6 separate regions of the Homo sapiens genome follow, and regions 2, 3, 4, 5 and 6 are each linked to region 1. Evidence: promoter capture Hi-C in 16 types of primary human blood cells and fetal thymus (Javierre and others, 2016). All regions are on one chromosome and are shown on one strand. Each heading gives the region's core, a stretch centred on a gene start or on the middle of the fragment in contact. The rest is flanking DNA. Distances are from core to core; before and after follow the strand shown.

The links. The method cuts DNA at HindIII sites, captures the fragments that hold promoters and counts their contacts. A CHiCAGO score of 5 or more calls a contact.
Region 2: a contact is called between a fragment that was not itself captured here and the fragment with the promoter of CSGALNACT1 in region 1, in 9 of 17 cell types (naive B cells, naive CD8 T cells, erythroblasts and 6 more). The highest score is 8.8, in naive B cells.
Region 3: a fragment that was not itself captured here is called in contact with the fragment with the promoter of CSGALNACT1 in region 1 in 1 of 17 cell types (neutrophils); the score reaches 6.8 in neutrophils.
Region 4: a contact is called between a fragment that was not itself captured here and the fragment with the promoter of CSGALNACT1 in region 1, in 10 of 17 cell types (neutrophils, naive CD8 T cells, non-activated CD4 T cells and 7 more). The highest score is 15.4, in neutrophils.
Region 5: a contact is called between a fragment that was not itself captured here and the fragment with the promoter of CSGALNACT1 in region 1, in 11 of 17 cell types (total CD4 T cells, naive CD4 T cells, non-activated CD4 T cells and 8 more). The highest score is 13.2, in total CD4 T cells.
Region 6: a fragment that was not itself captured here is called in contact with the fragment with the promoter of CSGALNACT1 in region 1 in 1 of 17 cell types (neutrophils); the score reaches 5.5 in neutrophils.

The regions. Positions count from the first base shown.
Region 1 is chr8:19,755,827-19,758,526 of GRCh38, reverse strand. CSGALNACT1 (chondroitin sulfate N-acetylgalactosaminyltransferase 1) reads left to right here and starts at 1,250. Exons shown (of 9, transcript NM_001354483.2): 1 at 1,250-1,341. The HindIII fragment of the contact is 8,664 bases long and covers 1-2,700 here.
Region 2 is chr8:20,127,172-20,130,440 of GRCh38, reverse strand. It overlaps LOC105379312 (a long non-coding RNA gene), which reads right to left. Exons shown (of 3, transcript XR_949563.2): 2 at 522-2,239. Among named protein-coding and RNA genes, the nearest start is that of SLC18A1, 54 kb to the left of the region's middle. The HindIII fragment of the contact is 848 bases long and covers 1,109-1,956 here.
Region 3 is chr8:20,146,366-20,149,260 of GRCh38, reverse strand. SLC18A1 (solute carrier family 18 member A1) reads left to right here. Exons shown (of 16, transcript NM_003053.4): 13 at 1,191-1,254; 14 at 1,539-1,658; 15 at 1,870-2,003. Among named protein-coding and RNA genes, the nearest start is that of SLC18A1, 35 kb to the left of the region's middle. The HindIII fragment of the contact is 1,351 bases long and covers 652-2,002 here.
Region 4 is chr8:19,489,934-19,493,094 of GRCh38, reverse strand. All of the region lies in intron 3 of CSGALNACT1 (chondroitin sulfate N-acetylgalactosaminyltransferase 1), which reads left to right. Among named protein-coding and RNA genes, the nearest start is that of SH2D4A, 180 kb to the right of the region's middle. The HindIII fragment of the contact is 8,083 bases long and covers 1-3,161 here.
Region 5 is chr8:19,469,313-19,472,418 of GRCh38, reverse strand. The region is part of intron 3 of CSGALNACT1 (chondroitin sulfate N-acetylgalactosaminyltransferase 1); the gene reads left to right. Among named protein-coding and RNA genes, the nearest start is that of SH2D4A, 160 kb to the right of the region's middle. The HindIII fragment of the contact is 1,498 bases long and covers 690-2,187 here.
Region 6 is chr8:20,100,948-20,104,017 of GRCh38, reverse strand. All of the region lies in intron 1 of LOC105379311 (a long non-coding RNA gene), which reads right to left. Among named protein-coding and RNA genes, the nearest start is that of SLC18A1, 81 kb to the left of the region's middle. The HindIII fragment of the contact is 2,076 bases long and covers 406-2,481 here.

The sequences.
Region 1 (2,700 bases), core at 1-2,500:
ACGAGGGTGAAGAGTTCACTCAGGGTGTGGGGTGGGGATAGGTCCACCTGGGGAGTCCAGGTGGGAAGCAAAACTTGCTTCAGGGATGCTTCCTGCAGGTAAGCAGGAGCTTAATGGAAACCGAGCTGCTTCAAGACTGTGCCTATAGCCTCAGGACTGCCTACCCTGTGCCCACAATAAAGTCTGGTGCGCCGGAATCTCCCAGATGGAGACTCTGAGCCAGGCAGTAGAAGGAGCCATGGCCAGGTAGTAGAAAGAGCACTGCCTCAGGAGTCATAGGACTGGTTTCCAGCTCCGGTTCTGCGGTGGCTCAGCCCTGGGGCCTCTGCAAGTTGCTTAACCGCATCTGCAGGTGATGACCTCTTCCAGTCTAACTGACTCCTCCTGAGTCCCCCTCAATTACACTGAAAATTGGCGATCCTATTTCCCAACTCCCTCTCCCACAGAGATGCGCTGGAGCACTTACAGATAAAAGGCGACCTGTGGCCCTGGAGGGTGCCTGCCTGTGTGTGCTGGAGGTGGCGGTGGATCTTTTATTACCCAACACTCCACTTGCCTTTTTAGCCTTTCCTCTCCCTCTTCTCTCCTGGCCTCCCAGTGGCCGTCAGGGGTCCCTGCAGACATCGCTTACCCACAGTGGTGCGGTGTGAGAGTTACAGGGGTTCCTGACCTTCGCTGTAAGTAAAAGCTCTCTAGGGGAGGCGTTATAGCTGACCAGGGCAGCAGAGACCGCGACTAAAGCGTGAATTCCCCGAAGTGCGATTTACAAAGTTTTTGCATGGAAGTCGGCGCTCGGCGGGGAGGGCAGCCAAGGGAACAGAGCGGGTGGAGCAGGGGGATGGGGAACTCTGTCCTGCAAGAGTAAGGACCCCATGGAGATTGGACACCTCTCTCCTGCAACTCGGGCCACGCCACAGTGTCCTAGTCTCTAAACTTCTCCGGCTCTTGGTGTCCAGTCACGCGTAAACCGCCCCTGGTGTCCGAGCGCGGCCCCTTCCGAGAGTGACAGGCTTCGGCCAGGGCGCCGCTCCGACGGGCGCAGGGACGCACTGCAGAGAGGCCGTGGGTGACGCGGAGGTACGCGGCCAACCGCGACCCCAGCCCGGCCTTGGCCGCCCCCGCCGGACCTACCCTGCGGCGGGGCGCCAGGCTTGGCCGCTGTTGCGCCCGCCCGCCCGAGCCGCCGCCGCCGCCGCTGCTCCCCGCCCCCGGGGTCCCTGGAGGCTCCGCGGCTGCCGGAGCGGGAGGTGGAGCCGAGTCCGCGGCGGCCGCGCAGGAGGGAAAGTTCAGCGACGGCGGCAGCGGCCGGAGCCGGGCCGGGCAGCTAGCAGGGCGCTTCGGGTGAGTCGGGTCCCCTCCCGGGCCAGCCGGGCGCGGTGTGCCGCGCGGGGGCGTCAGTGGCGCCGGCAGATCCCCACAGCCCCGCGCGCCTAGCTCGCGCCCGCCCACCCCGCGACCTCGGGGTGGCTCGTGCAGCTGCGGAGGACGGTGCCGCGCCTGGCCTCCCTCCGCCGCTGCCCGCCGGGGGCCCAGGGCACGGGCAGGGGCCGGGGACCGGCTTGGCAGGCGGAGGGCGCGGCGCCTCCAGGTGGGCGCGCGGGGACGCGGAGGGAGCTTCCAGGGAGGGTCCGGGGCCGCTGCGCTCCCGGGGTCGGTTTGGCTTCACCAGCGTTTCTCGTGGCCTTCCGCTGTCTGATTGCTTTCTGCAAAACCCACTGAAAAGTAGCCTTTCCACGTGCCGCGCGATGACTGCGGTTATTGTATTATTGTGGCTGGGATGGAGAGGGTGGAGGGGGCGTGACGAGGGTGGCCGGTGGGCAGCGCGCTCGCCTGCCCGGGACCGGGCTAGTGGGGGATGTGGCTGAGGGTCACCGCTGCCCGAACATGCCCAGGGGACGTGCGATCGGTGGGCAGAAGCTGTTCGAGGGCATGATCTTGGGGTGGGATGGGGGCTAGAAGGGCGGGGAGGAGAGGAAAGCTGTAGGAAGCGGAGGCAAAGTTGTTTGTTTCCGTCGCACTTCCTGCACCTGCATTCCTGTCAGAGATTTTGAAGTTATCTTTTCATCGATGAGCAAAGAATGGTGAGAAAGGAAGAGATGTTAACAGCACTGTGCCTGCCAAAACAGTGAGCCTCGGGAAATACTCATAAGTGAAATACTAATAAAAAGCATGGAGTGGTTAAATTTCACAAACTCCACTTTTCTTCTGGTTTCAAAGCCTTGGTGCAGTTTTTACTTAACGTCATTAGATACGTCTAGATAATAAAGGTAATGAAGTGTTCTTTCACGGTTTTTTTTTTTAAACTGGAAATTTAAATTTAATTCTGTAGGATTTCGTCGACATTGTTCCTACAAGAAAGTCAAATTACCTTGGTGTTACTTGCAACAGTGAGCATTAATAAGCCCTGTGCAGTGCTGAAATGTTGCTAATTGGAGGGAGAAAGGTCCTTCAAACTTGGAAATAGACGCAGAAAGGCAAGATGAATTTTTATGTAAGCCTTAGGCATAAAAGGCGACTTGAACACGTTTTGTAATAGTGCATAATACACAGGGGACTAGGTGTTGGGCTGCCGGAAGATGGTCAATTCCTAGAAAGCAAGAGACGGGCCATACCCATTGTAAGATCACCGTACATATTTAATAATTCGTCTGCCTTGAGCTGCCACACCATATGTACTCCACATAATACAATATCAAAATA
Region 2 (3,269 bases), core at 283-2,782, 370 kb before region 1:
GCCATGGGTTCTCAGTGTCTGTCTGCTACAAGGCACCATCAGTTTTTGGGGTTGTAAGCTCTTGTCCATTCCCTTGGTTTCAGCCTCCTACTGTCCCTCACCAGCAAGCCACTCATTGTCCCTGTAGCTGCCCTGTGGCTCTTTCTGTCTTCCTGACAGCCTCACAGAGGGTGGCCCTGGGGCCACGGCTCAGCCCTGGTGGCCTCTGAGCTGTGTCTGTCAGGCAGACACACAGGTACCAGATCGACGGCAGAGCAGGCCAGTTAGTGCCTGGTCCTCCTGCCTGTATGGGACCCGGCCTGCGTTGAACTATGATCTTCAACACTCACAACCACAAGCCACCACCTCAGCCCAGCACCCACTTGTGGCCACAGCGAGCTCTAAAGACTGATTTCGGTGCGTGTGGCCTGTTCACATTCCGGCTGGAGCTATGAGTCCTGGAAAGTCCTCAGCCCACTTCAACTCACCCTGGATCCCAGCCCTGCTCACCCCTTGCCAAGGAATACCCAACCCTTGCTCACCAGGCCATCTGGTATATGCAGAAGAGAACCCAGGCTTCAGGGTCAGAAAACTGAGCTGCGATTTCTTGCTGCTCCACTTATTCTCTCTGTGACTTCAAGAGGGCATCACCCCTGGGCCTCGCTTTGCTACGTGTGTGCAGTAGAAGGTTTGGATGACACCTGTACCAGAGCCCTGGGTCCGAATGGAGTGATGTGTGTGAAGCCACGTTGCATACTCTAGAGTTCTGCGCAAATGGCATGTCCCAGGCTCTCAAGAACTTTGGGAAGATTGACTTCCTTCCCAGAACATCTTTGTGAATTGAGCTGGGACTTCTGGAGGCAGGATTGTAGCCCAGAGGCGTGATGGCTGCTGGGAAGGAGAACAGAGTGAAGAGAATATCGGCTTCTCGGTATCACTGGTGTTGATAGATCCAAGGTTTGCTTTAGGATGCCAGGACTGCAGGAGGTAAAGGGACATGTTCACTACAAACCCCTCAATTAGTCACAACAAGTCCCGCTTGCAGAGGGAAACGGCACAGCCTGACCCATCTGATTAGCATGTGTTGATATGGGCCAAGGTATGAGATTAACATTTTATCTGCAAAGCTTCTGTGACCTCCTGCTTGCAGTTGTGAAGTCAGGACTCAACTCACAGTGTCTTGCTCAAGGTCCACATAAACATATTATGCTCACATTTGGGCATGGCCCTGCTTGGCAGAGCTGAAGCTGCGTACGTGAGGCATATGTATGTATGATCCAGCTGCTGTCTGATGCTTGCAGAATTGGTAAAGAGGTTGCCGAGATAGAAGAGCCAGCATCTGTTCTCACCTGTCTAAAAGTCCACTTGAGATCAGATTGTAGCAAGTGAAATGTTTGGACAATGATTCGGATAGCTTTCTTTGTAGCCTGGGGCAAGTCACTTAACCTCTCTAGACATGTTTTTCCATTCCTCATAGAAGAACAGGAAATTCTACTTTCAAAGGGAATCATGGCCTCTTAGCTCTGGAAGAAAACTGAGCGGGGTATGTTAGGCCAACCTTCTTTGGTCCCAAACCTCCCTTCTACCACAGCCTGGAAAAAAGGGCCTATCCTATCACTTTTACTTACATACCTCCTCCCACAGGGACCTCACTACCTCTCCTGAAGCCCATTCTTATGTGAGAAAGCTCTGATAGTTAACAAGCTACTTCTCATTTTCAGAAGAAGGTTTGGTAGCCAGGTTGATCAGGGAATGTTCAGCACTGGTTTGGGGAGTCGAGACGCCCCTGAGCTGGCCTGCCTCTCAGCAGTCAGGGCCATACTACTGCCAAGGGGGGTGATACAGTAGCAGCAACCGCTGCTCTCACTGGTTCTGTTGTCTGCCTGGACCAGCTGCCCTCATCTCTCATCCTCCACACCCCAGCTTACACTGTTTCTGCAGACTGAAATGAGTTTCCCTTACACTAGACAGAAAGCTTGCTATCTTTCTTCAAGATCTAGCTTAAATGCGTCATCTTCCATGAAGTCTTCCTAGATTTATCCAGGCCACACAATTCCTCGCCTGCATCCCCAGAACACTGAGCTCTTGCCTCTGTTATAGCAGGAGAACATAACATAGCAGTTGTATTGTTACAAATCATCCCTCAGTACATTCTCTGCTCTTCCAGGCTAATTACTGGGTCTCATATCCATGCTGGCATCCTCAGTATCTGTTGCAGGCCACAGCATATAGTGTGAATTCAATATTTGTGCTGACCCATCTAGACATAGACATAAATAAAAGTATATACATACATATTTTACTTCCTCCCTTCCTTCCCTCCCTCCCTCTCTCCCTCCCTCCATCCCTCTTTTCCCTCCCTTCCTCCCTCCCCTCTCCTCCCCTCCCCTCCTCTCCCTTCCTCCCTCCCTCCCTTCCTTCTCTCTCTTTTCTCTTTTCTTTCTCTCTCTTTCTCATTTTATTTTTTTCCTGCTACAAGCTCTTGCATGTGGAAGACAGAGTGAAATGCCCTTGGAATAACTGTAGTTTGTAGGAGAAGGGTCGTTGTCTACTGGAGGTTCAGAATTTCTCATAAAACACTTTAAAATGATGTGTGTTGGATGCGTTTAAAAGTAGCACAGTTAGTGCATTTATACTAAGCATATCAATGTACTGAGTAAAAGCAAATTAGAAAATTTAATTTGCTAAAAAGAACATCTGGATATCTAAGTAAAAGAGGTAAGGCTGTTATTTGACTCTGACCTGCATTCTTACTTCCATCGTCCTGCCCCAGTCAATAAACTCTTTTGGCCGGGTGCGGTAGCTCACACCTGAAATCCCAACACTTTGGGAGGCTGAGGCAGGTGGATCACCCGAGGTCAGAAGTTCAAGACCAGCCTGACCGACATGGTGAAACTCCGTCTCTACTAAAAATACTCAAAAATTAGCCAGGCATGGTGGCAGGCACCGGTACTCCCAGCTACTTGGGGGGCTGAGGCAGGAGAATCGCTTGAACCTGGGAGGCAGAGGTTGCATTGAGCCGAGATCGTACCGTTGCACTCCAGCCTGGGCGACAAGAGCAAAAATCCACCTCAAAAAAATTTAAATTTAAAAATAAATAAAAACCCTATTGATTTCTAGCATCTGCAGGACTTTCCACTGAGAATGAATGATGGATGCCCTAAACTGTATAATACCCAGAGGTGTCTGCCCAGGTAGGATTTTTGAGGTGAGCCAGAGAGGGCTGCCTTTGAAACCCTTCACCCACAGCCCCGCCTTTGCACCTCTGGACCCAGAGGCATGTGAGGCTT
Region 3 (2,895 bases), core at 78-2,577, 390 kb before region 1:
CCCAGGGAACCATCATCTATGTCCCAGTCTCTGGCACCAGAGGCTTGATAGAAGAAGAAAGAAAGAAGGACTTTTCCATTTCCAAGAATCCCCCTCAAGTTCTCAAAGCCTTCATTTCCTCCTCTCCCCAGTGGGGATGAGAAACACACAAACCTCCTAGGCCTGAGGGAGAGAAGAACAGGGCTACAAGGCACTGTAAACTGTGCTCAAGACCAGCTGGAGGTCCTGAGCAGGAGCATGGGATCCGGGTTCCATGGCAGGTTTTGCCACTTTCTATGCATGTGACTTTGAGCAGGTTACTTCATCTCCGTGTGCTCAGCATCCTCATCTATGTAGAGAGGGTTCTGATGGTGTCCACAGGGTTGTCAAGGTAATCCAAATAAACCACAGTGTCTGGCACATGGTGAGCCCATAGTGAATCTCAGCCAATACTATTGATAATTTATAAACATTTCTTGAGGCATGAACCCTAAAAATTGTTATCAGCCAGCAGCATCTAAACGGTATGCTAAACCCTTAAGGGGTGAGTGTCCTGGGGTAGCAGGTTTGAATGGCAGGTACCCAGAGAGGGAGGTAAGGAACCTGAAAAAGAGGGAAGAAGGGGTTTTTGTTGGGGGATTGGGAGGGCAATGGGAATGAGTCTCACAAGCTTCCTGACAGGGGACCCAAGCCACACCACCTGCCCCCTCTAGCTTACAGCTAACTGGTTGTTGGGGCCTCTTCTCTATCTTCTTTTTCCAACAGCTACCAAGTTAGAAGTCTAAATGAAACCTTTCAGTGATGTCCATAATGGAAAACAGAGGCAACTTTATTCCATGAAGAATGAGACCAGGAGTGTATGTTTAGGTGAAGAGGGGTAGAGGAAGGGGAGAAAGTATCCATGGAACAGAGGAAGACCCTCGTTAGAGCATAATGGAGCCAAGTCTGAGGTCCAAACTTGATCTTGCCACTCATTAGATCTGTAACTCTGGATAGAGCAATAAATAAACACAACAGCGCTGGTCAAGTTTTCATATCCTTAAAATGGAGGTATAGATTCTTTTCCATGAGAAAGTCTGAGAGTGCAGGAGGATGATGTATGTGGCCAATAGTGCACTCTGAATAAATGCATTTCATGTGAAAACTCTTTGAACCTTGCTCCCACCTGACCCATCTGGAGTCCTGATGACTCTTCCTCCTTCCCCATGCAGGTTCCTCTGGCTCACAATATTTTTGGTCTCATTGGCCCCAATGCAGGGCTTGGCCTTGCCATAGGTAAGAAGTGCCCTCAAAGAAAACAATAAGCCCCTGCATGTTGGCTTTGGGTCTGATGCCTTTCCTCCCCCTTTTCTCATCAGAGGAGGTAGGTGCAGAGGCAGAAGGATCAGGAGGGCAGCTGGCAGGGTTGTGGAGAGATGAGCTCGTAATTCCCACCTGGAACAGGTGTTAGTCCGAGGCAGAAGACAGCAGACAAAGCAAATGGACTAAATGGAGGAGGAGAGGCGGGGTGGTACTAACTGTGGGTGGGGCTGACTGTGTCCTGTTTGCTCTGGCCACAGGCATGGTGGATTCTTCTATGATGCCCATCATGGGGCACCTGGTGGATCTACGCCACACCTCGGTGTATGGGAGTGTCTACGCCATCGCTGATGTGGCTTTTTGCATGGGCTTTGCTATAGGTATGTTGGCAGGACCTGGTGCCCCACTTTCCCCTGTCTACTCTTTACCAGCTGGAAGTGCAGCCAGGAAGCTATCCTCCTAGGGTTCTGGAGATCTTTGACGCTGAGACATCCTCTGGGTCACCCACTGCCCCTAGCATAGTGTCCTACGTGGAGGATGCTCCATATGGAGGCTCCATAGACACTTATGACTTTGATGTATCCCTCCCAGGTCCATCCACCGGTGGTGCCATTGTAAAGGCCATCGGTTTTCCCTGGCTCATGGTCATCACTGGGGTCATCAACATCGTCTATGCTCCACTCTGCTACTACCTGCGGAGCCCCCCGGCAAAGGAAGAGAAGCTTGTAAGGAGCACCGACTGTTAAAAGAGAAATTCACTTCTGTTTCTTTCCATCATCTCTCTCATTCCCTTTCATCCTGGGCTGTTATTTCCTCCCTCTATTGCTCTGTTGATACTCTCTCTGCTTTGCCATGTTTCCCAATCCCCTTTCATCTTCATATTTCTTTTGTGCACTTCCTTAATTTCCCTTCTCTAAGTAACCACTTCCCTCTTTCTGGGGCTATCAGGAAGGGTCTTCAGTAGAGAAGGGAAATGGGGGCAGAGGACCATCAAAGACATCCTGTAGTTACTGTTCTTAGCTTGCTAGTTACTAGCAAGATGTGAGTTACCAAGTTAACTCCCTCATAAGTGGGCAGAATTCCATTGGCACATCCGTTCATCCACTCATTCACTCTAGTGCAACATTATCCTTACCAGGTCACTTTTTTTTTTTTTTTTTGATGGAGTTTCACTCTTGTTGCCCAGGGTGGAGTGTAATAGTGTGATCTCGGCTCACCACAACCTCTGCCTCCCGGGTTCAAGAGATTCTCCTGCCTTGGCATCCCAAGTAGCTGGGATTACAGGCATGTACCACCATGTCTGGCTAATTTTTTGTATTTTTAGTAGAGATGGGGTTTATCCATGTTGGTCAGCAGGTCACGTTTTTAAAAGTACAAAAACCCCAGGGAAGAGATCCATACCATAGGATTTTCTTTAATAAAGCACTTTCCTCTTACTGCAGCACAAACATCCTGAGGGCCTGATGGGTTTGGGATACCGACAGAGGCTGCTCAAGGGAACAAAAGAAGACATGAAGGTGTGATAGGGAGTGGTGGTGATTCCATTTGGCTTCCTGCTGTAACTTTCACTACCACTGTTAAATTCAGTTAAAAGCAAATGAGATACTTGTCCTGACA
Region 4 (3,161 bases), core at 643-3,142, 270 kb after region 1:
TGTTGCAAACATATTTACAGATGTTTTTTTTTTTTTTCAAAAAAAGAATTTTAGGCAGCTATCGAATTTATTGATGTCGATTCTCTTTCTCACTTATGTCAGTGCTTGATCGTAACCTTGTCATGGAAGACACAAATATGCCATACACTGGACAGGCGAGGCAGGGCACAAACTAAAAGAAAGAAGACTTAAATCTTATTTTTACCATAAGATTAGTTTAACAGACAAAACTATGAAAAATCTGTTCATATTATTCCTGATCATAGTCAACAGATTACTATAAAGATGAATTTCCAGTTTGGGAATAATGTTTTAAATACGATATCAGTAGTTTGAGGCTAAACATTCAAGCCTAATAACTGGCAGCATTATGCCATTGCTAGGCTGGTGGCTACGGGCCAGTGGCGTGGACCAGCAAGACCAGAGCATGGCTGGGCTTCCAGCTGGTGTTGAATGGAACATGCCCTTATCCTGAAAGCCTTTAGGGCAAAATCTAAGTCAGACTGGGGCATCGGACATGACACAGGTGAGGCTTGGCCCAGGTTGGCAGGCTAGCTCCAGCAGGGTAGATGGCACAGAGTTTAAGAGGACGTGAATTGATGTTTGAAGTTCATACTAGACATTAGTAAAAATGCAGAAAAATGCCTTCTGAATCAGGAGATCAGGAGTAGCGTGCAGGAAACTGAAGAGGTAGATGAAATTTACCATCCTGGGATAATTACTCAACAAACATTCACCAAATGTCTACTACATCCCAGGCATAGCCCAGCAGTATGCTGGTTGATTTCATCGTGAGGGCTTCAACCAAATGTCTACTATGTCCCAGGCATAGCCTAGCAGTATGCTGGTTGATCTCATTGTGAGGGCTGTGTGCTGTTGACCTTAGATACGTGCTTCTCTGAAAAGAAGAGCCTTCTCGCATATAGTTAGCATTTTGTTACTTAAATCCTGTAAATTTATAGACATTTTCCAAAGGATTCTCACTAGTTACCAATGTTCCCATGAGTGGCATTGTAAACACATTTTTCATTTTCAAGTTCATGGCTGAACCTACTTAAGTTATGAATATGTTTATGGTCAATAAATAGAGCTTATTAATAGCACAGAGTGTACTTTGGCCTTCCATCCATGTCTAAAGAAATCATTAATCTCTGTAACCTCTACCCACATACTAATTTGCACTGCAATGCTTGAAAAATTGCTAATTCTGTGGACTCATGTAAAGTGTGTGGAATGTAAATGTATGTCTTAGTACCCTTGAATTATGTACCGAATTTATTAGAAATCAGTTGTGTCGTTTGCAAATTACTGCACAACATCGAAACACACATGAAATGCTAAGAGTGAAATGTGAAAAGACCTTGCTTTGTTTGGTTCAAGATGCATATGAGCATGACATAAATTCTTGCTGAAACTTAAACCCAAGCAAACATCATGAAAGATACATGAGCAAAAGATGAACGGATCACAAAAGAGATACAGATATCTGATATACAAATAAAAAACTGTTTACTTTTTCTTACCTAATAAAGTTTAAAACAAATGTAAAATACGAATTTTCACAATTTTATAAATGATGACACATATTGTTAGGAGCAGGTGAAATGAAAATTTATATTTAGTATTAAGAGCATAAACTGTTTCTATCATTCTGTAAAGTAATTTGTATCAAGAACGTTCAAAATATTCATAGCTTTTTCCAGTATTTTCCTTTCTGAAAGCTGATTCTCAGAAATGTCCATGAATATTTATATCATAGAAGTATTTATAATAATGAAAAATGAGAAGCAATTAGTTGTCTAACAATAGGAGACTGGTAAAATTTTGCGGTATCGTTATAGTAGAATATTGTACGGTAAACAAAAATCATTTATTCAGTAAATATTAACATAGGACAAAGGCTATCATTTTAATTGTGAAAATAATTATAAAGTTTTTATCTAGCTATGTAAAGAAAAAAGATCGAGGGGATGAAAACACTGTAGCAAAGCATTGGTTTTTTTTTTTTTCCTGAGTGGTAGAATTATGAGTGATGCTGTGTTTTCCAGATACTTTCTTTGGAAATTCTGTTGCTGTTATACTTTGCAATAAGATATGGCAGTGCTTGAATCATGTTGACATGACTAGAAAATAAATTAGCATTTGATTCTAAACGTGACAGAATAGGGTAATTGAAACAGTCCCAGGTTTCGAGGTGGTAGTTTCAGGGGACTTCCTTCCTGCTGCCTGGGAATCACCTGGAGAATCCAGAAAGAGAAAAATAAAATTACAGGTAACTTCTAGGTCTCAATCAGTCTTTACCCTAAATACCAAGGCTGGAGCAGGCAGCCTGTAAAGGTGAGGGTTTTTTGGGGAAGGAGATGATGGGCCCTGTGGAAGAAGTTACAGCAAAGCCTCATTGTGTCCTGGGCTCCACTTCTCCTGCATTGTGATGGAGACTACAGGTGTCCAAGCTGGAGAGAACCAATCAGCATATAGCACTAAGCTGGTGTGGATTTATCAGTTGGCTCTGCAGAAAAGGTGGTTTCGCATGCTCCTGGCCTCTAAGCAAGAGTTTGGTGGAACCAGAGGTTCTGGTGTTCTCCGTCAGAGTCCCTTTCCTGGTGGCATCTTATGATGCTTTCTTTTTTCCCCTTCCCAGTACTCCCAGGAGATGAATAGGAGTTTTCAAGGACAAGAGGAAAAAGAACAAAACACCTCTTCTTCCTTCCCTTGATGAAAGACCCTACTGTCAAAAGTGCCTTTTGTTTTTTTAAACCTGTCTCTCTCTTTTCCTCTCTTTCCCAAAATACTGTTTTGCAGTCAGTCTGTGAAAACCAGTGTGAGTCGCAGAAGCAGCTTCTCGTGTGCAGCCTTCCATCTGTAGCTTGGTCTGTATTATGTGCTGTATTTTTAGAATGCCTAAATTAGTGATGTTCCATGCGCTATTTAAAGAGGAGCTGGGAAGTCGGGGGAAGAGCAGGGCTATTGATCAGGATTGGCTTCTGAATGTTGCTGGCTGTTATACTCGAATCCCAGAGTTAGAAATATTTGGGGGCCATCAAAAGAACAGATGGTCCAGGAAGGCAGCTGGCCCATGTGGTAATTAGTCTATGAAGGCAATTGGTCATTTTCTGAGCTTGGAGCAGAATTTTGCTTTTCTTGGTACCATTCAAGGTGTA
Region 5 (3,106 bases), core at 189-2,688, 290 kb after region 1:
ATCCTCTACTTTGGTGGTAAGTTGCATATGGACGAGGTCAATGGTTGGCCAAAGACAATAGCTTGGTCACACATTCCTTGGTCTTTGACCTTTTGGTTCCTGCTTATTGCTTCTGCCTGTATCTTAAGTTTTGTGCTTTCCCACGACATCCTGGATATACATTCGAATGTGTTTGCAGAGGAAGTCCTACAGCTGTTTGGAAACTGGCCCTAATAATGGCAGCTGTGACTTCCCCTCCTTGCATGTTGTTTGTTCTGGAATCTTTGTAGAACTCCCTAATATCTTTGCCTCTACCCTTGCTGACTGGCCTCTTAAACTCCATTGAGTCCAAGTAGGCATCCTGCAAGTGTAATTTCTAACCCTTGGTGTCTTAAGGTAAGATGATGGGAATAGATGGATCTGCCATTTCTTCATTAGAAACCCACAGTTCTTCAACAATAGGAAGTGAAGGTGAAAAAGAGATCTGTGGAGTTGTTTTGAGCAGCCTGATATCTGGGTCCAGCCAGCTCTAGAGACAGCATTGAGGGAGAAAAGTGCAGAGGCCCAGTTTCCAGGACAGCTTCATTCTGGGGCTGTTGATCACCTGGAGCAAGTTAGACTTAAACATCCTCAGAATCTGTTTCTTCCCCATCTCTTCCGTTGAGTTTTCTCACTTCAGCCTTGTTGTTTACTCTCACTGCATCTAAGCTTTCACCCTTTCCTGTCCTTGTACTCTACCTTTCCTTAGGCTCCTCTGCTCCTCTCTCAACCTGGACCCCATAATGTAACCCCTCTGTTACCGGTGGAAGAGATAGGAGTTACCCTGAGTTACCGGCGTCGAACCCCTACAGGTCCACAGCAACTTCAGTCCTTGCCGCCTCAGAAGAAAGAATTCGACTGAGGGGCATGAAGCAGAAAAACAGACTAAGGCAAGTTTCAGAACAGGAATGGAAGTTCATTTTAAAAGGCTTTAGAACAGGAACGAAAGGAACATTCACTTGAAAGAGACCCAAGTGGGTACCTGAGGGTCCAAGAGAGAAAAGAGAGCAAAAGAAGACAGGAATGAAAAAAAAGAAAAGGAGGGAGGGAGACCTTTAAACTTGATCCTGGGATTTTATAGGCTCGCCTCTTCCCCATGATTCACCCCTTAGGGTAGGCTTTCCGCATGCGCAGTGTTCTCCTTACCCTTTGGCATTGAGCAAGCGCAGTGCGTTTAGTGAGTGATACGCATGCCCATTGGAGGCTTTCTTCCCTTTTCCGGTGGAGTGTGCCCCAAGATCATACTTCACCTTTTTTTTTCTCTCTCTCTCCCCTCTCTCTCCTTTTGTTTTGTTGTTTTGTTTTGAGACAGAGTCTTGCTCTGTTGCTCAGGCTGGAGTGCAGTGGTGTGATCTTGGCTCACTGAAACCTCCACCTCCCAGGTTCAAGCGACTCTCGTGCCTCAGCCTCCCAAGTAGCTGGGATGATGGGTACCCACCACCACGCCCAGCTAATTTTTGTATTTTTAGTAGAAACGGGGTTTCACCACATTGGCCAGGCTAGTCTGGAACTCCTGACCTCAGGTGATCCGCCCACCTCAGCCTCCGAAAGTGTTGGGATTATAGGCGTGAACCACCACGTCCAGCGCATTTTTGTCTCTTAACACATGTTCCCAGGACATTGCTTCTCCTTAGGGCCTGCGTTCAGTTAGCATTTTGATGTTAACGGGTGTGGATCATCAGGAAGTGGCCTCTCTGTGGCACTGCCAAATTTTCATTTTTAGAGAGGCAATGAGATGATTGCCGAATCATCCCCTTACATTTCTAGGGTAGAGCCCTCTCCTGCCCCGCTCATGCCCAGCTACCTGTTAACACTTCCGCCACTCGCTTCCCAGTGCCTGCCTTCCTTGCCCTCACACCTGTCTGCAGAGTCCAGTCCAAGCTCAGTGAGTCACCGTCTTGTTTCCTCTGTTGCCTGTGTTCCTCACGCTGCTGGAGAGAAGTCACTGAATGCGCGTGCTGATGTCAGTGCAAATTCATGCTCTCTGGCCTCGCTGCCTGCACCTCTGCGTTGTTTCCCACATCCTTACTCATCTCCGTGCTCACTGTCCCATCCCAGCCTCCAGCACTCCTCATAAACCCATTATTCTACTTTTAATTCCCTCATTCTGTTTCACCAAGAAATTAACGACTTAGCGCCATGAGCTCCTGTGGTTCCTTGCCCCAAGCTTTCTCTATTTGTATCCCTAGCCTTCTGCTCCATCCCCATTGTGGGAACTAGGTAACCCTTCTTTGTCTGATACCAAGTACTTTGCGGGGTTGTAGGTCCCATCCACCTCTCACCTTCTCACTCCGTCCCTGCATCTGTATTATCCATTTCTATTTGTTCCTTTTTATCAGCATATGAAGGAAGTATGTTGCTTTTTCCAATATTTTTAAAAAACATTCTGTCAACTCGGTAATTCCTCTGATTTCTACCCTATTGCATTTATTCCCTTTTTAGCCAAGCACCTTCCCTTTCTTCTTCCCTCCCTCCCTTTCTCCTTCTGTGAAGCAAATATTCATTAGGGTTGCAGACACCAAGTTCTGGTTTCACAGAGTGTACCTTCCCATGGCAGGAAGAGTAACGCATAGATAAGCAGTAAACACATTCAGATAATGTGCGATGAAAAACCCAGAATGGGGTCGTGTGAAAAGGTAACAGAGAGTGTCTGTGGGATGGTGGGGGGCTTCAGAGACTGAGAGTAGGTAAAGCCTCATTGAGGAGGTGGCTTCAGGGCGGAGACCTACATGGTAGGAAGGATGTAGCCGTGCCAGACCTGGGGAAGTGTCCCAGACAGAGCAGAAAGAAAGGGCAGAGGTTCTGAAGTGGGAATAAACTTGACATTTTCAAGGAATTGAAGGAAAAACACTCAACTCACTGCTGCCCCTTCATCCCTTATCATTTTTCAAATCTATCCCAGGCTGTCTTACACCCCTGAAACTTATTGATAAGACTACCTGTGGATGGTCTCCTCCTTGCCCCATCCAGAGGGCTATTTCTTTTTTCTTTTCTTTCTCTTTCTTTTTTTGAGACAGGGTGTTGCTCTGTCACCCAGGCTGCAGTGCAGTGGTGCACACACAGCTTACTGTAGCCTCGATCTCCTGGG
Region 6 (3,070 bases), core at 194-2,693, 350 kb before region 1:
GTAAATGTTAGTTGTAATCAACTCATTGTTAAGTTACTTTCTCTATAACAAAATAGTGATGCATTTATTTTTCCTTTACTATGTAGTCACTCACTTTGTTTATTGAGTGCCTACCATTTGCATACATGAAGCCGAGTGTTGCGTTAGAGGCCCAGGAGCCATGATCACTTTGAGGAGTGGGGAGATAGAATGCTTTCAGGGATGTGACTCCTTGGGAAGAAATGCTGTTTATTTCTCTCAAGAGCAGAAAAGCCGCCCATGTTCTCTTGAATTATGGCTACTCTAAAGTCAGCCCCATGTGGTTTCTCTCCTGTTCCCACCCTCCCTCGTTCCCGCTGTCCCTCATTTAGTTGCTTATGAATTCTGAGCATTTACACAAAGAAGCTTTCATTTTTGAAGAAAGCTTTGCAGGCTGAATTCCTCAGAACATGTTCTGAATGGAGGGACTGAGGTTTTCCTATGTGTTTGTTTGCATGTGAATAAACAGGAAGTGTATAAACCGCTAAGGAAGAATTCCTCTGGAGGAAGTGAGTTTGGGAGCCAACTCAGGACCTCCCGGGCTTCACTGGCTCTTTTCTGCTTTTGCACCACAGATGCTGGGAGGGGAGATGCTAACTGGAATGACCGACGTGGGGGCATGTTCAGAGCCCACAGGGCCTGCATGGCCGCTTAAATTGTTTCCTTGATGGTAGTCTCTTTGCCCTTCAGTCTCTCCAGTAGAGGGACTATGCACCTCCATGCTATGGATATTTGGGACTGGATAATTCTTTGTTGTGGGCGCTGCCCTGTGCCTTGTAGGGTGTTGAGCAGCACCCCTGGCCAATGTCCACCAAATACCAGGAACACCTCCCCCTCTGCTGACCAAAATGTCTCCAGAAGTTGATATACCTTCAGGGACGAAATTGCTCCTAGTTGAGAATCAAACTGCAGCTCTTAAGAAACTTCCTAAAGCAAGCCTTTCACCTGCTTGAATGAGATCCATGTTCTTTAGCCTGGCATTCAAAAGTCTTCAATAACCTGACTCTTCCCAGAAGCCTCATCCCCGCTGTTGTCTACTCTTTCTTTGACTCCAAAAAATAGATCTGTCCAGAGTTCCCAGGGAATTTCTTTCACAGCTCTTTCATCTTCTCATCCTACTTTCTTTACATATTCTTTTCTCTCCTCTCCAGCTACCCAAGGAAGATTTGAATAAATTGAAAGATATAATTTGCAAAGAAAAACTTGATATTGTAAAAAGATCAGATCTCTTTAAAATAATCTATAATTTAGTATCATCCCAGTAAAAATGTCAAAAGAAGGGTTTTTAATAGCTAGACTAGTTTCTTCTAAACTTTTTTTATAGAAAGTAAACACGTAAGAATAACTGAAAATATTTTGAAGAGTATTAAGGTACAAATCCTACCAGTTATTCAAATATACTATAAAGATATAGTTATTTTTAAATTATGGTATGATGCTTAATTACAGATGCATAAACAAAACAAAATAAATATTCTATAAATATGACCTAATGCATGTGTGAGTCTTATATATAATATATAATAAATAAGGCATTTCAAGTCACTGGATAAATGATGGATTATTCAGTAAATGGTTGGGGAACAACAAGGTAGCCCTTTGGAAAACATAAATCCCTACCTTCTTACATTAAAGTATTTCCCAAGTAGTTCATAAGTATTAACATAAAAACTCCAACAGGTATGTAATAGTAAATTGTATCATTTTGTTAGGAGTTTTAAAATAAGAGGCAAAACCCAAGAGTCATGAGAGAAAAATATTAGTAATTTTATTGAATAAAAATGTGTGCTTCACAAAAACCACCTGTATTAGTCCATTTTCATGCTGCTGATAAAGACATACCCGAGAATGGGTAATTTATGAAGGAAAAGAGGTTTAATGTACTCACAGTTCCATGTAGCTGGGAAGGCCTCACAATCATGATGGAAGGTGAAAGGCACTTCTTACATGGCAGGGGCAAGAGAGAAAATGAGAATCAAGTGAAAGAGGTTTCCCCTTATAAAACCATCAGATCTCGTGAGACTTATTCACTACCACAAGAAAAGTATGGGTGAAACCGCCCCCATGATTCAATTAACTCCCACTGGGTCCCTCCCACAACACGTGGGAATTATGGGAGCTGCAATTCAAGATGAGATTTGGGTGGGGACACAGCCAAACCCTATCAACACTATAACAAAGCTAAAGACAAAAATAATTAACAACGGTATTATAAGACATGTGATCCAACAAAGGGTTAATTTTTATAAAGAGTTTATGAATGAGAATCAAATCAAATAGAAAAAAGCAATAGAAAATCAAATAGGATCCAATTAAATGGGAAAAAAAAGTCAAGAACTCCAGAAAATAAGAAAGTAAATATCTGAGGTTTTCAAAGTTAGCCTTGTTATAAGAAACAAATAAAAATAAGTCTCTGTTTTTATCTATCAAAATGTCAAAGGTCAAAAGGTTATTAATAAAGCTTTTATAAATGTACAGAAGTAGTATACCCTTACATTGCTACAAATTAAAGACAGAACAGTTTGCCAATAACTTTCAAAATTATAAATGCACATATCCAGTTATTCCTTGCCCAGGAATATATCCTACAGGTACACCCGCATGAAATGTGCAAAGAGGGATGTGCAAAGATATTCACTGGAGTATTGTTTAGTAATTAGTTAATAGCAAAAACCCGAAAGCCTTCAAATGTCCATAAATATGAGAAATGGTAAAGTAAATGATTGTGCAATTGATTGAACACTCTTTGGACATGAAATGCGATGCTGCCGATTTGTATGGGTCGAAATGGATTGGATTGAGTTCCTAGGTGTATTAGGAGAGAAAAAGTAAGTTGTAAAACCATGTTGGTGCAATGGGTGTGTGTGTGTGGCTGTGTTTGTCTCTGTGTGCACGTCTGTGGATAAGATAGTTCTGGAAAATGACATGCAGAATTCACTAAATTGGCTTCTGAAAATATATATAATACGTATACATGTAATATTAGCTAATATATATTATATATTATATAATATGTAACGTTATATATTATATAATATGTAACATTACATAT